Linked DNA regions of Homo sapiens: region 2 is linked to region 1. Evidence: promoter capture Hi-C in 16 types of primary human blood cells and fetal thymus (Javierre and others, 2016). All regions are on one chromosome and are shown on one strand. Each heading gives the region's core, a stretch centred on a gene start or on the middle of the fragment in contact. The rest is flanking DNA. Distances are from core to core; before and after follow the strand shown.

The links. The method cuts DNA at HindIII sites, captures the fragments that hold promoters and counts their contacts. A CHiCAGO score of 5 or more calls a contact.
Region 2: a fragment that was not itself captured here is called in contact with the fragment with the promoter of FAM210B in region 1 in 1 of 17 cell types (naive CD8 T cells); the score reaches 5.3 in naive CD8 T cells.

The regions. Positions count from the first base shown.
Region 1 is chr20:56,356,589-56,362,183 of GRCh38, reverse strand. FAM210B (family with sequence similarity 210 member B) reads right to left here and starts at 3,210. Exons shown (of 3, transcript NM_080821.3): 1 at 2,993-3,210. The coding sequence starts at 3,178. RefSeq lists a silencer at 2,934-3,533. The HindIII fragment of the contact is 7,749 bases long and covers 1-5,595 here.
Region 2 is chr20:57,352,092-57,357,686 of GRCh38, reverse strand. It overlaps RAE1 (ribonucleic acid export 1), which reads right to left. Exons shown (of 12, transcript NM_003610.4): 2 at 3,559-3,655; 3 at 2,871-2,975; 4 at 1,149-1,241. The coding sequence starts at 3,648. It also overlaps the pseudogene MTND1P9. Among named protein-coding and RNA genes, the nearest start is that of RAE1, 3.6 kb to the right of the region's middle. The HindIII fragment of the contact is 1,499 bases long and covers 1,958-3,456 here.

The DNA of each region.
Region 1 (5,595 bases), core at 1,961-4,460:
GAGAAATCATATTAATAATAAACACTATATTGTGTATATTCTGTACTAGGCACTGTTCTGAGTACTTTGAAAATATTGGCTGGGCACGGTGACTCATGCTTGTAATCCTAACACTTTGGGAAGCTGAGGTGTAGGAGGATTGCTTGAGGCCAGAAGTTCAAGACCAAGCTGGCCAACATATCTTTTATTTTATTATTTTATATTTTTGAGACAGATTCGTGCTCTGTCGTCCAGGCTGGAGTGGAGTGATACGACCTTGGCTCACTGCAACCTCCGCCTCCCGGGTTCAAGCGATTCTCCTGCCTCAGCCTCCCGAGAAGCTGGGACTACAGGCACGTGCCACTATGCCCGGCTAATATTTGTATTTTTAGTAGAGACGGGGCTTCATTATGTTAGCCAGGCTGGTCTCGAGCTTCTGACGTCAGGTGATCCACCCACCTTGGCCTCCCAAAGTGCTGGGATTACAGGCGTGAGCCACCGCGCCCGGCCTCATCTCTAATTTTAAAAAAAGGAAATATTAATGCATATAATCCTCACAACAACCTTGACTACTGTCAACCCCACTTAACAGAAGAGGATCTGAGAAGCCCAGAGAGGTTGAGTAATTTACCAAGGATCACACAGGGATTACTGTCAGAGCTGGGATCCAAACTCGCTGAGTCTGGGTCCAGGGCCTTTGCTCTGAACAACCATGCTATGTTACTCCTCGTGTATTCATGAGTGTCTCCTCTGTGCCAGGCACTGTTCTCAGTGTAGGGGACAGAGCAATGGAAAAAACTGACAAAACCCCACCCTCGATGAGCTTATGGTCTTATGGGAAGGCAGGGACAATAAACAGAAGAGTAAAATACCAGGGCTGCTACCTGTGACAAGTGCCATAGAGAAACACCAATGGGGCGGGAGACAGGGAGTAGGAGGAATGTTAAATAAGGCCATCAGGGAAGGTCTCCCTGAAAAGGTGCCACTGGAACCAGAACTGACGGAGACAAAAGGACACTGGGGCTCTGGGAGAGCAAGTCATCTGCCTGAACTCCCCCTACGTCCCTGGAAGGAATAAGTGGCACAGGCAGGCGGGGCTGCTAGGCGGTTTACAGGACATGGAATCATGTTAAGACAAAAAGGCAGGTCTCTTCTGTGGCTTTCCCTACCCCTCTTACAGAGACCCCCTGCCAAGGCAGCGTGGGTGGGCCTCTTTGGCTCTTAATTAAACACCTGGCAAATTTGGAGAGCCCAGCTGGGCAGCACACTCCTACCTCCCGACGAGGGTGGGCGGCCAGAACAGACGACAGGGGAGGTTCTGGGCTCTGGCCAAGCCCAGACCCTCCCTGCACTGCTCCCAGGCCCTGCTGGGGACGCGTTTTCTCAGGCAGATGAGTTATCTTTTGTCCTAATCTCCTTTGAGGTTCTGATCCCACTTGGGTTTCTGCCGATTTTACCACGGTGCAGAAGAAACAAGGACAGCTCACGGGGCCCTGGGGCCTTGTGACTGTATATATTTACTGCAATTATAGTCATTTCTAACCTTAATTTAGGACACACCAGATGCCAGGTATGAACATATCTCATTTTACATTCATATTCTATGAAGTCTGAATTATTAACGTCCCATTTTACAGATGAGGGGCCTGAGATAGAGAGAAGGGAATTTGATCAAAGTCAACAACAAGTGAGTAGAGAGAGGAATCCAGGGAGTCTGAGGCCAACTCTTTGCCACTGTATACACACACACCGCTCCAGTGCCAGGGCCTGAGCTGGGGACAAGGTCAATGTGGCTGACAGGCAGGACAAGAGGCCATTCCAGATGAGTGCAGAGAAGACCCACAGCCATGGGGTGGAAGCAGGCCCAGTGGAGGCATCCGAGACCTCACAGGTCGTTAGAGAGGGCTTCCCGGAGGAAGGAACAGCTGGGCTGGGCCCTGAAGAATCATCAGGAGGCGGCACGGTGTGTGCAGAAGGTGCCACTCTGGAGAGGATCCCCAAGACCTGTGTGCCACCTGTCGGACTGGAGAAGGCAAGGAAGGAAGTTGATCTGGGCAGGAGGCATGATGAAAGCCTGGGTCCAATCCCCATCCGCTCCTTACTGAAAAGCTAGGAAACGGTCAGGAGATGTTCGCTGGGCCGGCGGCACTCCGCTGAGGCCTGCACCAGCTCATGGAGTTGTCTCCCAAACTCTTGCTGGGAAGGTGCTATTTTTGGCCCTCTAAAGGTCAGAAAACAAGCTCAAAAGCCTTCAGGACTCGGTCTGAGGTCACCGGGCGATGAATGGAGGGGCCCTGTCTGCACCCAGGCAAACAAAGAGGCTCCAGACTGCCAGGCCGGATGCGCTCCGGGCTGGACGCCGGCTCCGCGTGTCTGGGCTTGCCATTCCTGGACCGCCAGACTTCATTTACTACTATTTTTATTTAAAAAGACTCACTTGGAAGAAAGTGATAGATTTCTTGAAAGGAAAGCTGGTATGACTGCTCTGAAGGAAAACCAGTTTTCACTTAGCACCAATGGAAAGTGACGGAAATGAAACATAACAAACAGCACTGTGGGTTTCTTGCCCGCGGCTTCCCTGAGGACGCCTGCTCTTCCACTCAGAAGAAAAGGGAGGAGCAGCGAGCGTCGGGAGGTGTTCAAAACACAGCGAGACCCAGCCAGAAGGCCTGGACAACAACTCCGCAGGCAACGTGTGGAAGTTCAGACCAAGTCAGTCGGCTGCGCCCCAGCCTGGCTGAGGCTCTGCAGACCCGGGGCTCGGCCGAAGACTGCGCGACCTTGGGCAGAGCGCCACACCTTCCCGAGCCTCAGTTTCTCTGGCTGTCAACTAGGAGGATCGCTTCCTTGGCTTGCAGGGATTTGGGGTTTCGGGGACCCTGGAAGAGCTCGGTCCCGGGCAGCTACAAGTGCAAAGGCGTCCTTGGCGGAGGCGGCCGGACCCCGGCGCGGCCCTGCGGACGTCTGGGGACCTGGACACCGCCCGGGATCAGGGTCGGGGTGGGGTGCTTACCTGGTGGCCGCGGCAGTCCCCGCGCGCCGTGCGGAGCAGCCGGGCGTCTAGCCTGGGCGGGAGCAGGGCCAGGGCCAGGGGCGGCGGGGCGCAGGGGGCGGTGGCGCCCAGGAGCCAGGTGGCGCGAGGCCGGACCCGGGCGCCCACCCTGCCTGCCGGACCCAGCAACGCCAGCAACCCGGCCATGGTGCGCAGCTAGGCGCAGCACCCGCGCCGCTGACCCGGGAGGCGGGCGGAGGCCGGGGAGGGTGGGCGGAGCTGACCCGGCGAGGGCCCTCCCCGGCCCCGCCCGCCGGCTTCGCCGCCGCGCGCGCGCGCTGGGCGGGACTGAGGAGGCCTGTGCACATCCCCTTGGCTCACCCGCTAGCTCCGCTCCTCGGGAGCCGGAGTCCAGGGCTGGTGGGCGGGGCTGAAGGAGCGCGCCCCGCCTCCTCTCCGCCCACCAGCCCCGCCCCTTTGGGGGTGGGTGCAGGTCTTTTCAGGGTCTTGGGCTTTCTAACTGTGGTGTGTAGTTGGCGGGTTTCCTTATTCTGCGGGCACAAAGGTGGGCGTAGGGCCGTGGCTTATGAGCTTTTCTCCCTGCAGAAATGGGTGAAATCTGAAAAAAAATTATAGATATGTTTACGTGTTAGCTCCAAAGAAGAAAATAAATATGAGAATTGATATTAGTACATGTTTAATAAAAAGTCCTCTGACCCTCATAGATTGTTGGCGTGAATGTAAAGCGAAAGATGGTGTGGCAGTTTCTTGAAAAGTTAGACATACACTAACCATACAACCCAGCAACTCCACTCCTCGGTAGCTTCTCAAGAGAAACAAAGGCTCGACACTCAAAGACTAAAATGTGAAGACACCAATGTTTGTAGAGATCTTATAAATATTAGTCAACAATTAGGAATGCCCATAAACTGGGACGTACTGTGGCACAAGTCTTCAATGGGACGCAATGCAACAATTAAAGGGAACAGACTACTGATACATGCACAACATAAATGAATCTCAAAGCTCTTATGCCAATTGAAAAAATCTAGGCACAAAAGTCACACACTGGAGGATTCCAGCTACATGAAGTGCCCAGAATAGGCAAAATCACAGAGACCTAAAACAGATCCGTGGTGGCCTAGGGCTGGGAGTGGGAAATGAGATTGACTGCCAAGGAGTGGGAGGAACGTCTTGGGGTGAGGGAAGGATCCTAAACCCAGATTGTAGGGATGGTGACAGCTGTGTAACTAAAACTCGTGGGACTGTACACTTAACATGGATGAATTTTATGCTGTGTAAATTATACTTCAATAAAGATGTTCTGGCTGGGTGGAATGGCTCATGCCTATAATCCAAGCACGTTGGGAGGCTGAGGTGGGAGGATTACTTGAGCTCAGGAGTTCAAGACCAGCCTGAGCAACATAGCGAAACCCTGTCACTACAAAAATAAAAATAAATTAGCCTGGTGTGGTGGCATGCACCTGTAGTCCCAACTACTCGGGAGGCTGACGCAGAATTGCTTGAGCTCAGGAGGTCCAGGTTTCAGGGAGCCACGATGGTGCTACTGCACTCCAGCCTGGGTGACAGAGCGAGACCCTGTCTCTCTAGAAAAAGAAAAAGAAATATATTTTACAAAAGATGTAATATTCTATTAGTCAACTGCAATTCAACTCAACCAAGCTCTTACACAGGCACAGAAATGATATTAAACACATATGCATTAAAAAATATTTATTACATAAGATGGAGTTATAGCTGTGAAAGTAACAGGGTCTGTTGGAGGGAGGTCCTAAAGTGCCCCTGGATGGGAATCCTTCCATTTAAGTGTCTGCAAGAAGCTGGGGAAGAGTGCTTAAGGGTGCAGATTGTCTGTCAGGTTGGCCCTAGAAGTCCAGCTGTGTGATTTGGAAGTAGTGACTCAACTTCTCTGAGCCTTGGTCTTTTCATGTGTAAAATGAAGATAATAATAGTTTCCCCCATGAGATTGTTGAGATAATTCTTTGACACAGTTCTTGGAAAGGGCTTCACTCAGTGCCTGGTGCACAGAGAGGGCACACACGTTAGCTGGGATGTTGTAGAGATGCCTTGCCTGAAGCCCCTCTGTCACCCGGTGACAGTGCCACCTCCAGATGGCATCTGATCTCGACTTCCTCATGGTTCCCATGATTTTCTTTCTTTTTTTTTTTTTTTTGGAGATGGAGTCTCGCTTTGTCGCCCAGGCTGGAGTGCAGTGGCGCGGTCTCAGCTCACTGCAACCTCAGCCTCCCGGGTTCATGCCATTCTCCTGCCTCAGCCTCCCAAGTAGCTGGGACTACAGGCGCCCGCCACCACGCCTGGCTAATTTTTTGTATTTTTAGTAGAGACGGGGTTTCACTATGTTAGCCAGGATGGTCTCGATCTCCTGACCTCGTGATCCTCCTGCCTCGGCCTCCCAAAGCGCCCGTGATTTTCTTGTCACCAGGCCTTCTTCATTCATTTAAGTTTCCTGCCCAGGCTTCATGGGCAGTTGAGTTTGTGATTCATGCTATATGCTTATTAGAGAAGAGAAAAAGGTAATTTTGTTTTTCCCTTTAAATTTGACAGTAAATATAATACTGTAATTATAGACTTTAGGTTCTTTT
Region 2 (5,595 bases), core at 1,458-3,957, 1.0 Mb before region 1:
ATCATAATAAATGCCCTAACTACTACTATTTTCCTAGGAGCACTACACACTGTATATTTACCAGAACTCTATACCACAAATTTAATTACCAAGACCCTTCTAAACCACTCTCTTCTTACAAATTCGAATGGCATAACCCCAATACCGCTAAGACCAACTCGTACATCTTTTATGAGAAAACTCCTACCACTTACATTAGCATTTTGCAGATGCTATATCTCAATGCTTGTCCTAATTTCCAGCATCCCACCCCAAACATAGGAAATATATCTGACAAAACAATCACCATACGTTAATGCAACATGCTGAGCGCAAAGGTTGCACCCTATAGGATTTATTTAGATGATACTCTTGTAAAAGCAAAACTATAGGGACAAAAAAAACAGATGAGTAGTTTCCAGGGGCTGCGAGCTGGGAAGGATTTGACGACAAAAGGAAGGAAGAGAATTTGGAGGCCGATGGATCTGTTCTATATCTAGAACACAACTCTATGCATTTCTTAACACTCACAGAGCTGTATACCAAAAAGGTTCAGTTTTACAGCAGGCAAATCAGACTCAATAAACCTGACTAAAGGAACAGGTACAAGGCCTCGGAAGGGGCCTCAAGGCTTAGCTTCTTCAGCACTGCAGTGTGTCTGCCTGTCACCAGGCCCCTTAACATTCTCACTACTGTTGGGTTCAGCCACCAGCAGCAATGGCAGGAGAAGGGAGGAGAGAGGCTGGGGTGTTCAACCCCTGGCTCCCCTCGCCAGGCCGAGGCCCGTCTACAGCTGTTCATCCCCTGGCTCTCCCGCGCCAGGTGGAAGCCCCTCTACAGCTGCAGCTCATGCTGTGCTCCAGGAGGCCCGCCCACTGCAGCTTGGCACCGGTGTTTCACCTTCCCTGCTGGCTTCTTCATAAATTATCCCTTAATCATTAAACTCTCCTCAATCACACACACAAAATTTAATACAAGAAAAGCTTTCAAAGAAAGTGGCTAACTAAAGCCAACATTAAGAACATCAATAAATGACTATATTTATGTTCAGAAACTTAGAATTCCTACAATATGAACACATATATGCTATTTGTGTTTGGATTATTAAATATTCTAAATCATTCTGTACTTTAAGTAAAATGGAACACGAGAAATGGAAGGGAACGTACGTCACTCCAGCAGACATCAAGCACAGGCCCAGTGTGCATCTGCTGGGCTTTTGGAATGGTCTGTCCACTGTCTTGAACTTCCCAGCAGCGAACCTGTAGTAACAAAAAAATTCAATGCAAACAAAGCAATTACGATGTATTGCTTGCATTTAACACCTAAAAACTAATGGGGTACACCTTAACCATACATAGACTTCTCATAGCAACCTAATTATCTAACTTCAAGAACAAAGGAATTAAAATATCTATGAAAGCAACTGTTTTCTTCGCCTAAGCTATTAAAATAAACAAATTCTATTGCTTACACATAAAATTGCAGATAATTTTCTCAATGCATCTATGAGATATGTCTTTTAAAGTAGAATATCACTTACCCATTACCATTCAGAGAATCAAGACCAAAGTAGAAACTTACCTCTTTTCTGAATACTTTATATAATCTCCCCTCCGTTAAAAAAGTAATACATTTTAGAGATTTTGTAAATATGGCAAAAAAATAAAAATCACCCTAATCACACCACAGACAACCACAGCTAATGGTTCTGTGTGCTCTTAGTCTTCTTTCCATGTACGCATATTTTCTGGAAGACACTAGATTATACAGTGTCTTCACTTTTGCAGCTACAGCTTTCCTCACCTGCATCACTAGCCTGTTCAACTTGAAACATCCTTTTTTTAAGCAGCAAATAATCTGAAATCTTTCTAAAAATTACATGTAGAAAGCAAGCTTGCTCAACCTTGACTACCATCCTCCCTCCTGTTCTCCTAACCCCTGCTGCCCCTGTGCTGTAGGCTACAGTTCAAAAGCTTTTCCAAAAACTTACAATGGTATTCCATCATACAAACATACTATACATTGCCATTACTACTGGATATTAAAATTTTCAAAATTTTCACAAGTTCACAGTGCTTTGGCTGTTATAAAGGTTAATTTAGATAATGCAGATGAAGTACATTATCAGATTTCCTACTCAAGTCCCAGAAGGGTATCAGTGAGATAAAGGGTATAAGCTGAAGGATTTTTGATAACTATTGCCAATTATCCTGTGGAAAAGCCAACTTACATACCTACCAGCCATACATGCAGGGTTTCAGCTTATCCTTGCTGGCACTATTATTCTTTTAAACTTTTAATTTTGTTAATTTAATAAAAAAAAGTCTTAAATTTGCATTTATCTGATTACAAGCATGGATGAATGGTTCAGGTTTATTCTTTCTTTTGTGAAGTCCCTCTTTACACCCTTTGCTTATTTTTCTACCAGAGTTTTCTTTCTTTTAGTAAACTGTAATTTTTTTGTCTTTCTTTTTGTACATGATGAGTAAGTATCTAGGCAAATCTGTGCTATTATTTAACGTTGAAAAAGTTTCATACATGCCTGAGGAACACTGTCAGGATGCCAAGAAAGGGAATTTGTTGGTGTGTGCCACTGGGTATAATGTTCACTCTGGATGAATATGATATTTGATTTGGGAATAAACTTCAAGAGACTGAACTAAAGTAGAAAATTTCGAGCAACACATATGATTGTGCTTTCCTAACAAAAACGGGTGTAAGAATAATGTCTGCCATTCAGAAGGGTTCACACCCCCTAAATTGATTTCTCAAAAAAGGCCATAAATAAGTCCAACTGATTCATTTACTTGGGAAACAACGGAGCTAAAGCTAACCTTGGCCATACAAAGAGAGATGATTTCTAGAACACGTATTTAAGGAGCACTTACATCATTAGCCCATGATCCTGCAATAAGAAAGTTCCCCGGCAAGGTTGGTGGGCTAAAAGACAGACAACCAATGCTATCATCAGGAGATGATGTTACTTCAATATCCTGCGGGAAAAAAGTCAATGTTAAAATGTATGCACGCTCACAACTTCATTCCAAATTGTTTTCTTTCTCACTAATTACCTCACGGTGGCCTTTCCTTGTGTACAAGAACTAACTGAATTAGACCTTTCCTTACTTTGATCAAAGACAGGAGTAAAAAATAAGCTAGAGAAAGTACCAGCACCACCAGGACTAGCAGTAGCAGCTGCTAATGAAATGCCCATGGTCTTGTTTTCTAAATGACCAGTTCACTCTGGCCCCACAGTGCTAGATCACAGTTTTCACCTGCCATCCCCTCTCTCCAACCATGGGAATTCTGAGTCAACAGTCCTGGCTGGGCCAGGCCCTGGGAATCTGCACCGGAATCTGCACCTTGGGTGATTCTGGAGACCTGGCAGGCCAGGAAGAACAGGACACAAGTACGGGGACACATTTTCTGTGCTCCAGTGTTTCAGAAACATGAGTTAGACAAAGTTTCAAAGCTTTCAGCCTAAAGGAGGCTCCCAAGTCATCTCGGGTTCTGTCCTTGATGGGAGAAACTCTGCCCAAACTCTTCCTACAAGCCCCAGGAAGCTTTTCGTGGTACCTTCATGGGATTGTGATTGTCTGTAGTTGCACTGCCAAACATGCTGGTCCCACTGGTTCCAAAACCTGAGGTTGTTCCAAACAGGCTCATTTTGAACCTAAAAAGTAATGAAAAATGTTAAGGATGGGTTTTCTCTTAATATCACTGAGAGGCAATGGTAAGATAATTAACTGGCAGAAGAGAAATACTCAAAGTGGCTTGAGGCCAGGCTTCACTTTTCAGACAAGAGCGCAATGAGCAGAGTGCTTTCAAAACATAAACCTTCTATTTTAGAGTAGTTTTAGGTTTCCAGAAATAGTAAAGATAGAATTCCCATACACTCCATATCTAGTTTCCCCTATTATCTCATATTAGTACGGTTCATTTGTTACCATTAATAAACCAGTATGGATACATTGCAGATTATTTTGTAGGCACCAGCTAGAAAATAAATTCACTCATTTTTTACATAGAGACCCTGAGCTGCGCAGCAGGAATATAACAGTAAACAAGATCGCAGGTCCCCGTGCTTTCAGGTTTCCACCTAGTGGGCATTCACTTTCCTACTAATTTCTACATTCTAGTTTAGGTCAGCATCCGCATGAAACTACCTAGAACAACCAGTCCGGGAAGCGAATCAGCAATTTCTTCGTAAAAGTTTTAAAAAGGTCGGGCATCGTGTTTTGGACATTTACCCAGCAAGAACCTCTCCCACCCTGGGTTTTTTCTTGAATATCATAATCTAACAGGCCCACCAGGGTTTGGTCAGGGCCTCTTGCCACTCAGGAGTTGGGACTCTAATCTCACCAGTCTTCATTTTCCTGCTCTGCAAACATAGAGAACATTAACACATTCTCCAGGGCTGCTCTGGGGATCAAATCAGATTATGTAGAAAATGCAGTATCTAGTTCATAGTGGGTACAATAAACGACTTTTCCCTTCTTTTTTCCTTCCAACTCCCCGAGGAGTTACGTACACTGAAACCACATTTCAATCCTACTACCTGTTACGCTGAAAAGTCCTCCATACCAGTCACCTCTCCAAAGGGAGCCAAATGGCTGAGTGACATCCTTGCTAACAAGACAACACAGAACGGAGAAACTGCAAGGAATTTGGGGAAGGCATTTGAGTTTCCTCAGCTTCATGAAAAATAAGTGCAGAACAAAAGGTCAGAGCAACAGCTACAAGCACATGTACATTTTAGTGAACGTGAGGGGATGTGGTCCTTGCCGGCCACACTTCTGCCCTCAAATGCAGAGGTACTTGAAACACCAGTTGGCTGTATGAACGAACAAAGGCATGACAAGGCTTCTGCAATCAGTCCAGGTGCTGGTTACACGGCTTTGGACGGGTCACTTAACCTTGATTTTCTCATCTGTAAAACAGAGACACTAATATCTACTTCACAGAGTTATGAGAACTAAATGAAGCCACACACACACACTGCCTAAAGCACTACAGGTTCTTAATAAATATTACTTTCACTCTATTCCTCTACCTCAACCTTCAAGTTGGGAGAGAACATTTCTGCCATTAGGGATGAACTTAGGAAAAAGAACATGGTAGGTGAGAATCGTTCGTGTTAGTCAGTGTGGACCACACCTTATGCTGAGCACTGGGAAGCTTCCAAAGTTCAGAAGGCACAGTCATCTGTGGGACCCACCTAATCTCTTCCCGCTCTCTCCCGCCTTGCTGCACCCCAGCCCTCCTAGCTCTGCTGGCTTCCTTTCTCCGCTGAACACAACAAGCTCATCCCTGCCTTGGAGCAAACCTAGTGCTGTTCCTTCAGCTTGGGATGATTTGCTTCTCCCTCCCCACAGCTACCTCCGTTTGAATCTTCATATCCCAGTTCAAAAGTTGCCTCCTCCGAACTTCTTGGGGTGATGAAAATGTCCCAAATTTGAACTTGCCATGTTTACGCAACTGCATAAAATTTCCAAACTCACAATATACACTTTCAATGGTTGAAATTAATGTTATTTTATACTTCAATAAAGCTGTCACACGTATTCTTTTTTAAAGTCACCTCCTCAGACGCTTCTTTGCCAACTTTAACAT